2 separate regions of the Homo sapiens genome follow, and region 2 is linked to region 1. Evidence: promoter capture Hi-C in human tissues and cell types (Jung and others, 2019). All regions are on one chromosome and are shown on one strand. Each heading gives the region's core, a stretch centred on a gene start or on the middle of the fragment in contact. The rest is flanking DNA. Distances are from core to core; before and after follow the strand shown.

Evidence for each region. The method cuts DNA at HindIII sites, captures the fragments that hold promoters and counts their contacts. A contact is called where the count stands out against the background at its distance.
Region 2: a fragment that was not itself captured here is called in contact with the fragment with the promoter of EIF2B3 in region 1 in 1 of the 25 tissues and cell types used here (spleen).

What each region holds. Positions count from the first base shown.
Region 1 is chr1:44,984,928-44,990,037 of GRCh38, forward strand. It overlaps EIF2B3 (eukaryotic translation initiation factor 2B subunit gamma), which reads right to left and starts at 1,668. Exons shown (of 12, transcript NM_020365.5): 1 at 1,566-1,668. It also overlaps the pseudogene PPIAP35. RefSeq lists enhancers at 1,442-1,711, 1,670-2,251, 1,962-2,011 and a silencer at 1,802-1,891. The HindIII fragment of the contact is 6,221 bases long and covers 1-4,861 here.
Region 2 is chr1:45,637,668-45,643,047 of GRCh38, forward strand. GPBP1L1 (GC-rich promoter binding protein 1 like 1) reads right to left here. Exons shown (of 13, transcript NM_021639.5): 7 at 4,760-4,832; 8 at 2,543-2,736. Among named protein-coding and RNA genes, the nearest start is that of CCDC17, 16 kb to the left of the region's middle. The HindIII fragment of the contact is 4,098 bases long and covers 1,957-5,380 here.

The DNA.
Region 1 (5,110 bases), core at 418-2,917:
TCCCGAGTAGCTGGGACTACAGGCACCCGCCACCGCGCCCGGCTAATTTTTTGTATTTTTAGTAGAGACGGGGTTTCACCTTGTTAGCCAGGATGGTCTCGATCTCCTGACCTCATGATCCACCCGCCTCGGCCTCCCAAAGTGCTGGGATTACAGGCGTGAGCCACCGCGCCCGGCCAATAATGTCCATCTTATGAGAAGCACTATATTTGTATTTGCTTTACTAGACAGAGACTAGATTATGGAAAACCTTCGTACTAATTGAGCCATGCTGCTTCATAATTCTGGTCTCTGCACTGCTACTGTTGCTTCCTAGTCTGCCTTTCTCTTGTGTCTAGTAATCACCTATTAAACTTTGAAGACAGCTCAAGAATCCTCTTGCCTACAAAGCCATTCCTAACCGTTCCCACCCCTCCAGAAGTGACTCCTTTTCCCGAAGTGCTTCCATTCTGCCATGTGCAGATTCTCTTAGCCTTTACGGGTTTCATTGCACGTATGTGTTTAAATGTCTACTTAAGTGTAACATTAATGTCTCTTAAATGTCTACATAAGAGTGTAAGAGTGACTTTCTTGGACTGTGTGTGCATCATCACTGTATTCCCAGTCAGATGCCAGAAATCAAAGTGGAATGAGGACCTGTGAACTTCACAACTGTATAAGAGTCAAACTCAAACATGTGCATAAGGGCATTAGAACCCAGGTCACTAGGAACTGAGGTTCCAGCTCTCAAGGAGGCCCTGGGTGAAGAAAGGCAACCTAGGAAGCATGAATAGTAATCATGAACATAACTAATCATGCTACCAGGCAGACTGTCAAATGCTCATGTCACTGCCACGACTATGGCTGACGGGAATCATGGCAACGAGTCTCGCTGCCTCCCAAGCTTTGGAGAGGGTGTTCACCGCATCTCAGACTTGCCTGCATCATAGCACTCATGCCTTTTCCAGTTGTAAATAGATAAGAAAACTGTATCAGAATTGGTCTGTCATTCCACGTGTGCTGCCTGAAGGCAGAGACCTCACTGCTCCTCCCTATATTTCACTGCCCTGCATCCAAACAACTAAAGGCAGGCTGAACAAATGAATGAAGGGCTGAGGCTGAAAGAGTGCAGGCACAGTGCTAAAGGCGTCTGGTACCGGTCTGGTGCTCGCTCACTCGCTGTGACTTTAAGCAGAACCCTCCCCGAAACTTCGTTTCTTTCTTTTCTTTTCTTTTTTTTTTTTTTTTTGAAACGGAGAGTCTCACTATGTTGCCCAGGCTGGAGTGCAGTGGCGCGAATTAGGCTCACTGCAACCTCCACCTCCTGGGTTCAAACGATTCTCCTGCCTCAGACTCTCGAGTAGCTGAGATTAGAAACTTAGTTCCTCCATCTGTTGCATAAGGTGGTTGGCTCGGATTCTCATCCCCAACCTCCCTTCTACTTCGGACACAGCTACACCGGGTCGAGCAGGGAGTCGAGCTGACAACTTCGGGGCTCAGCACCCTCTCCTACCCCTTCGGGTCCACCTCGGCCCAGTTCGACATGCCCGCCTCCCTCAGATGAGTGGCCCCACCGCACTGCTCACCCGGGTCAGCCAGCTTGTGTGCGGCCTGGCAGGGCAGAAGTCACAGCTATAACTCAGCTCCCGGCACGCCGCAACCGCTCCCAGCGATCTCCACGCCGCCTCTGACTGACAGCCCAATGGCGCAGGCGCGCGATGGCCGAGAAACTCGATGGAACGCGCAGAGCAGACCCATGGAGAAGAGAAGACCGCCGAGCGATGGATGACGGAGGGGAAGCACACTCAGCGGAGAGGAGGGAAGGCGGGCCGGAGGGGGCGGGGCCACCGAGGAGCATTCGACACGTGTGTCCCTCTGTCCATTAACACATTACCAACGCCTTTTGAGTATTCCTCCCAGTGCAGGGTGCCGGGAACCCAGACGGAACAACTCAGCCTCTTTCCTCAGGGAGTAAGTCTAAGACCTGGCTTCGAGTACATTCGGTGAAAGAAAGCTCATTGGGAGCCGCAATTTTGGCTAGCTAGTGAAAAAAATCACCGAATGCCCCTGCAGGGGTTGCCAGGACTTCCTATTTGTTTTTGTTGTTGTTGTTGTTGTTGTTTGTTTTTTGTTTTTTTTGAGACGGAGTCTCGCTCTGCGTCGCCCAGGCTGGAGTGCAGTGGCGCGATCTCGGCTCACTGCAAGCTCGGCCTCCCGGGTTCACGCCATTTTCCTCCCTCAGCCTCCCGAGGAGCTGGGACTACAGGCGCCTGCCACCATGCCCGGCTAATTTTTTTGTATTTTTAGTAGAGACGGGGGTTTCACTGTGTTAGCCAGGATGGTCTCGATCTCCTGACCTCGTGATCCGCCCGCCTCGGCCTCCCAAAGTGCTGGGATTACAGGCGTGAGCCACCGCGCCCGGCCCGGGACTTCCTATTTGTAACAGGGCCACTCACGTTAACTTTAGCCATCAAAACTGGGGGCGGCTGGGCATGGTGGCTCATGCCTGTAATCTCCGCAATTTGGGAAGCCGAGGTGGGAGGATTGCTTGAAACCGGGCGTTCAAGACCAGCCTGTGCGAGAGAGCCTCCAGTCTCTACAAAAGTAAAAATTAGCTGGGCATGGTAGTGTGTGCCTGTAGTCCCAGCTGCTCAGGAGGCTGAAACGGGAGGATCGCTTGAGCCCAGGAGTTCGAGGCTGCAGTGAGCTATGATCGGGCCACTGCACTCCTCCTGCCTAGACGACAGAGTGAGACCCTGTTTTTTTTTTTTAATTTAGTTTTTATTTCATAATCATAAACTTAACTCAGCAATCCAGTTAGGCATGGAAAGGAACAAGGAAAACATGGAACCCAAAGGGAACTGCAGCAAGAGCACAAAGATAAGATACTGCGAGCAGGCCGGGCGTGGTGGCTCACGTCTGTAATCCTAGCACTTTGGGAGGCCGAGGCAGGCAGATTGCCTGAGCTCAGGAGTTCAAGATCAGCCTGGGCAACATGGTGAAACCCCGTCTCTACTAAAATACAAAAAAAAAAAAAAAAAGAAAGAAAGAAAGAAAGAAAAAATTAGCCAGGCATGGCGGCGTGCGCCTGTAGTCCCAGCTACTCGGGAGGCTGAGGAAAGAGAATTGCTTGAACCCGGGAAGTGGAGGTTGCAGTGAGCCGAGATCGTGCCACTGCACTTCAGCCTGGGAGAGGGCGACAGGGTGAGACAGCGTCTCAAAAAAAAAAAAAAAAAAAAATACTGCAAGCAAATGGGGTGAAGGGGTGCTCTTCTGAGCTACAAAAGGAATGGTCTGGTGGTTAAGATAAAACAAAAGCCAAACTTGTTAGAGTTGTCCACAGTCAGCAATGGTGATCTTCTTGCTGGTCTTGCCATTCTCGGACCCAAAGTGCCCCATGGCCTCCACAATATTCATGCCTTCTTTCACCTTGCCAAAGACCACAGGATTGCCATCCAGCCACTCAGTCTTGGCAGTGCAGATGAAACACTGGGAACCATTTGTGTTGGGTCCAGCATTTGCCATGGACAAGATGCCAGGATGTGTATGCTTTAGGACGAAGCTCTCGTCATCAAATTTCTCCCCGCAGGTGTACTTGCCACCAGTGCCATTATGGCATGTGAAGTCACCACCCTGACACATAAACCCTGGAATAATTCTGTGAAAGCAGGAACCTTTATAACCAAATCCTTTCTCTACATTGCTCAGAGCACGAAAGTTTTCTGCTGCCTTTGGAACCTTGTCTGCAAACGGCTCGAAGGACACGCGGCCCAAGGGCTTGCCGTCGACAGCGATGTCGAACACGGTGGGGTTAACCATGGCTGATCGTACAGAGCTCCTGGCGTCGGTGGCTGCATTTGCAAAGCCGAGACCCTGCTTTTAACAAAACAATAATAGGCCAGGTGCGGTGGCTCACGCTTGTAATCCCAGAAGTTTAGGAAGTGAGGCGGATGGATCCCTTGGGCCCAGGAGTTCGAGACTAGCCTGGGCAACGTAGTGAAACACCCTCTCTACTAAAAATACAAAAATTAGTCAGGTGTGGTGCCGCGCTGTGGGGTTCCAGCTACTTGGAAGGCTGAGGCAGGAGGATCGCTGGAGCCCAAGAGGCAGAGGTGGCAGTGAGCCAATATGGTATCACTGCACTTCAGCCTGGGTAACAAAGAGACAGGATCTCTAAGTAAATAAAATAAATATTAAAAAATGACGAATAGATAATAAAATAATTGTTGTTCTAAGCTCTACGGTTTGGAGTGGTTTATCAAGTTGCACTAGATAACAGGACCAATGGCCATTCTCTTTTTCCCATGCATTCCTGCAATTTCCTAATCTTTTGAAAGCTTCCTTTTTTTTCGATTAATTAATTTTTTTTTTTTTTTGAGACAGTCTCACTCTGTCACCAGGCTGGAGTTCAGTGGCACAATCTTGGCTCACTGCAACCTCTGCCTCCTGGGTTCAAGTGATTCCTGCGTCAGCCTCCCGAGTAGCTGGGACTACAGGCATGCGCCACCACGCCTGGCTAATTTTTGTATTTTTAGTAGACAAGGGGTTTCATCAGATAGGCCAGGATGGTCTTGAACTCCTGACCTCGTGATCTGTTCGCCTCGACCTCCCAAAGTGCTGGGACACAGCCGTGAGCCACCGTGCCCAGCCTGATTCATCTCTTAAATCTTGAGTTGCTTTAGCTTCCTGCCAGTTAAAAGGTAGAGCATGATTTCTGTAATAAAAATAAAGGAGCTTGACTTCATTCAACAATATTTATTCATTTATTTTTAGAAATGAGGTCAGCTTATGCTGCCCAGGCTGGACTCAAACTCCTGGGCTCAACGATCGTCTTGCCTCAGCTTCCCAAGTAGCTAGGACTACAGGTATGTGCCATGGAGGACTGGCTTCAACAATATCTTGAGTGCCTAATATGTGCCAAGCAGTGTCTTAGATGCTTGGTGTTGCAGATACAGCAGTTAATGATTAGGACTTGTCATTTTTTCCAGAAGGAGGTCTGCTTAGACCCTGAAAAAAAAAGGGGGGGACTCATATCCTAAAACCAGCCTATCTTTGCCTTGCCATGAACTGACTGATCTGGCCACAGGAGGCCTGAAGTCTGACTACCCCTCTATAGAAACACAGAGATATT
Region 2 (5,380 bases), core at 2,756-5,255, 660 kb after region 1:
ATGACATTTTCTTACTCATTTTTATATTTTCTGTAGTCCTGCAGAATGCTTGCAGACATCTTAAAGTAACACTTAAGAAAGTCTTTATAAACTCTCAAGAAATGGGACAAACATAAGTTGTGCTGGCAGGTTGGTAACAATAGCTACCATTTATTGGCACTTATTATATGCCAGTTTTAGGTATTTCATAAAATTTTCTCATTTACTCCTCACAAAAAAAAGGGGGGCATTGTTATGTCTATTTTATAGAAGAAGAAACTGAGACTGGGAAGTGAAGAAACTTGCTCAAGGACGTAAGATGAAGAAGGTGTAAGGTGAAATCTGTCTATTCCATAGCCCGGCAGTTAACTTCCATGCTCAGCTGTTTCTTTGTAATAGTTGCTCTCTTCACTTGAATTCACATTCTTTCCCTTCTACATCAGAGGAAAATAAACCCTAAGTATCCTAAACCCTTTTCAAAGATAACTGTACTTGTCAATTAGTTTTATTCCCACATATTTCTTCTTGGCCCATAATCCTTTAATGATCTCTTCCAAGTACAGTTCAAGTTGCTTCCAGTGGCTTCTTCCAACAGACTTCCTCATCCATTCACTTATCTTTTCCACTGCCTATATTCTATCTAGTTCCTTTTACTGTCAAGGTTAAAAGGTGCCACTACCTCCACATATTTCCAAAAGCCCTTGAAATACTGTTTCAGCCCTACTTTATTCCCTAAAAACATCAACTCAAAAGTCTCCTAAGATAATCACTAAGGTTTTTTCTCAGTTATTTTCCTCAACTTGTTACCCCTGTTGCTATTGCAAACTCACCCACTTGTATTTCTGTGAGAGTTTACCATTTTTTTCTGAACTAGTTTCTCAGTACTATCCCATTCTTTACTCCTCTTCTATCCTCTTCTCTTCTTCCATCCTCTTCTCTTGTATATCTAATCTACCTTGAAAACTCCAATCATTATCACTAGGATAGTAACTCCCAGTGAATTTATTCAGAGGGTGAGCACGGTGGCTCACGTCTGTAATCCTAGCACTTTGTGAGGTCAAGGTGGGAGGATGGCTTGAGCCCAGAAGTTCGAGACCAGCCTGGGCAATATAGTGAGACCCCAATCACTATTTTAAATAAATAGATGAAAGAAAAGAAAGAAAATTATTCACAGAGAGGATGGCATGCGCCAGAAGAATAATTTCTTCCCGGGTAAGAGAAAAAAGGGGCAATAAGATGCAAAAGATGGATTAGAGTTTGGCTATGAGAAACTTCACAGACCTCTGCTTACTCTGCACACTGACTATAGGACTAGCACACTATGACCCATGGGCCAAATCTTGACCAAGGCATTTCTGTATGATTCATGAGCTCATACTTATTTTTACATTTTTAAAGAGCTGGAAAAAAAAAAGGCAATGTGTAACAAAAATCATATATATCAAGCAAAGCCTAAAATATTTATTATCTGGCCCTTCATAGAAAAAAATTACCAATCCCTGCCATACATTGTTTGGAGCCACTGAAGGAATTCAGGAAGGCATGTGATATATTCAATTGTTTTTGGAATGATCATTCTGGCAGTTCTGTAGGACACAGAGACATGAGAAAATAGAAAGGTATACTAGAACAGTAAATGTGAGAAGACAAAGTCCTGAACAAGGACAGCATAGAGAGAATAACAGGGACTTTGTAATTCCTTGGCTGAGGAGAATGACTAAGGAGGAAGAGAAGAGAAGTAGCCAAGATAGTCAAGCTGAGTGATTAGGATGTTGTTGCTATTACAGAAAACCAGAGGGGCCAGGTGTGGTGGCTCACGCCCATAATCTCAGCGCTCTGGGAGGCTGAGGCAGGAGGATTCCTTGAGGCCAGGAGATAGAGACCAGCCTGGGCAACAAAATGAGATTCTGTCTCTACAAAAAATAATTAAAAAAAAAAAAAAAAAAATGGCTGGGCGTGGCGGCTCACGCCTGTAATCCCAGCACCTTGGGAGGCCGAGGCGGGCGGATCACGAGGTCAGGAGATTGAGACCATCCTGGCTAACAACGGTGAAACCCCGTCTCTACTAAAAATACAAAAAAACACCGAGCCGGGTGTGGTGGCGGGCGCCTGTAGTCCCAGCTACTCGGGAGGCTGAGGAAGAATGGTGTGAACCCAGGAGGTGGAGCTTGCAGTGAGCTGAGATCGTGCCACTGCACTCCAGCCTGGGTGACAGAGCGAGGCTCCATCTCAAAAAAACAAAACAAAACAAAAAATAAAATAAATAAAAAAAATAGCCGGGCATAATGGCGTGCCCCTGTAGTTTCAGCTACTTGGGAGGCTGAGGTCACACTGAGCCATGATTGTGCCACTGCATTCCAGCCTGGGTGACAGAGTGAGACCTTGTCTCAAAAAAATAAAGAAAAAGAAAAAAAAAAAAGCAAAGAAAGCTGTATACATATAACAGGTACTGAAAGAATATCTGGTGACTGATGCGGCAAGAAAAAACAAATTTATTAATTTTTTCCTGATTTATTCCCAAACCTCTCTTGTATAAGGTTCTTGCCCTGATTCTAAATCATACCTTGGAAGGAGGTGGTACAGGCTTAGGAACCAGGTTCTTATAGACACTTGGAACCACGGATGACAATTTGTTCCCATTTGCATGGTGAGATCCTGGTGAGGTGAATGCAGCAGAGAAGGCAGCAGCAGGATCCTCTTTGGAAACTTTTTTGATAACTAGCATCTTGGAGGGTTGCTTGGCACTAGGCGGGTTTTCTGTGAAGTACAAGAGTGGAGAGACAACAGAATGTCAAACCTGTTGTGTAACATGAAGCATAGTTTATACAAAGGCCTTAGTCAACAAAACAGCTGACAGTTGAGACAGAGGGATTAAACATTCCCTGGTATGCACTTAATAGATACTCTCAAAAGTGAGACTACTCAGGAACTGTACAAAAAAATGCAGCATATGAGGAACTGGATACTAAATTTATAAATCAGCCAGGAAGTCCAAAGATGTTAGCAGTCCTTCAGGGGCACAATATGTCTGATGGACAGTGTGATCAGTTAAGCATGAACCCAACAAGAATAAATCCAAGCGCCAGGCACTGTGGCTCATGCCTGTAATCTCAGCACTTGGAGGTGCTGAGGTGGGCAGATCACTTGAGTCCCAAGAGTTCGAGACCAGCCTGGGCTGGCAAACCCTGTGGCAAATCCCCATCTTTACAAAAAATACAAACATTAGCCAGGCATGGTGGTGCACACCTGTGGTCCCAGCTACTTAGGAGGCTGAGGCGGGAGAATCACTTGAGCCCAGGTCGAGGCTGCAGCGAGCCATGACTGTGCCACTGCACTCCAGCATGGATGACAAAGTCAGACCCTAACTCAAAAAAACAAAAACAAAACAAAAAAAAACACCTAAAAGTAGCAGCTCCTGTCAGCATGAGAATAGAGAGATGAGGTAATCAGGGATTGGAGTCTGCCATGAAACCCTCTGATGAGGCAAACTGGAGCAAAGGTATACACCATTAGCAAAGAGGAGAAGGTACATCGATCAATCTTAATCCTACAATACTGGATTCTAAACCCATCATTTAGATATGTTAAAGACTTCCCATGTTCTTGGCTATCAACATGTCTAATGAAGAAACCAGGAGAGTCCAATTTGTAAATGCCAAAGATCCCAATGCCACAGATGAGGTTTGGTTTGAAATACAGATTCCTATCGCACCACTGCACTCTAGCCTGGGCGACAGAGTGAGATTCTGTCTCAAAAAACAAAACAAAACAAAACAAAAAACCACAAACATATATATACACACACATACACATAAACACACACACACACACACACACACACGAATATTTAAACATACATATATATGAATGTTTAAGAATATATTGTTATGGGCTGGGTATGGTGGCTCACGCCTGTAATCTCAGCACTTTGAGAGGCCGAGGCAGGCGGATGATGAGGTCAAGAGATCGAGACCATCGTGGCCAACATGGTGAAACCCCATCTCTACTAAATAACAAAAATTAGCCGGGCGTGGTGGCATAGGCCTGTATTCCCAGCTACTTAGGAGGCTGAGGCAGGAGAAAAGCTTGAATCCGGGAGGCTGAGGTTGCAGTGAGCTGAGATCTCGCCACCGCACTCCAGCCTGGCAACAGAGTGAGACTCCATCTCAAAAAAAAAAAAAAAAAAAAGTAAGTGAAGTAGCAATGTTAATTAAGTTACTTTTCATGAACTTTTTCTACTTAAAATCTGCTTCCATGTTGGCTACGGTGGCTCATGCCTGTAATCCCAGCACTTTGGGAGGCCAAGATGGGTGGATCACTTGAGGCCAAGAATTCAAGACAAGCCTGATCAACATGGTAAAACCCTGTCTGGACTAAAAATACAAACATTAGCCAGGCATGGTGTAGTCCCAGCTAGGGAGGTGGAGGCTGCAGTGAGCTGAGATTGCGCCACTGCACTACAGCCTGGGCAACAGAATGAGACTGTCTCAAACAAACAGACTAACAAACACCACCAAAACAACTGCTTCCAAATTCACGGTTCTATAAGTTCTCAGTTGTCTGTATTTTGACTCTACTACCATGGTAACATTTCAGTGGTGTTTGGGGGTTGGGCGGTGGGGTAGGGGGCAGAATAACCCGCTACAGTCAGATGTTAGTTACCATGGGCAAATGCATGAGATGAGAAACAAGAGATAAAAAGAGATAAGGAATCTTTGCTCCCCTCCCTGCTAAGAAAAAATTTTAAAGTTGTGCCTTTAAAATGGCAAAATCTACCTACCCCATACTCCAGAAGGTGTCCCAATAGGTCTGCATGGCTGATGCTGTTTGCCAGCTTCTGGATTCAAGGAAGGCTAGGAAAAAAGGGATATGAATGGTTGATACAGAAAGCTGATCATTTTGGCACTTTTCACAAAGTAGCCATCACCATGGAACCTATCAAATAATTACATATTTTACATATTAGCAACACTTACTAATTTGACACTGTATTCAGAAACGTAACAAACAGAAAATATCAAAACACAAAATCAATAGGTATTATGTTAATATTAGGTTCTCCTGAGTTTCATTTCCTTTGATATAAGGGATTTCATTTATTTTAAATAAACAGACTAAATGTGCGAATTCCCACTTTCCTATAGGATATGTATGCCAAATAAGGAGGCACTGAAAGTTAGATGAACAAGAATGTGGATCATTTTCCTCAGATTAAAGGAGGACAATGTGGTCAGTGAAATGTATAGTATTCACTGCATTTCTAAGATGGGTGTAGGGCAGGGGCAGACCATATGCCAAGGACTGTGCTAGAAATACAATAAAGAGCCCCTGTCTTCACACGGGTCACAGTTTTGCTATAAAAACTTCTAGACAAGTTAAGTACAATAAAAGGTTACAAGGA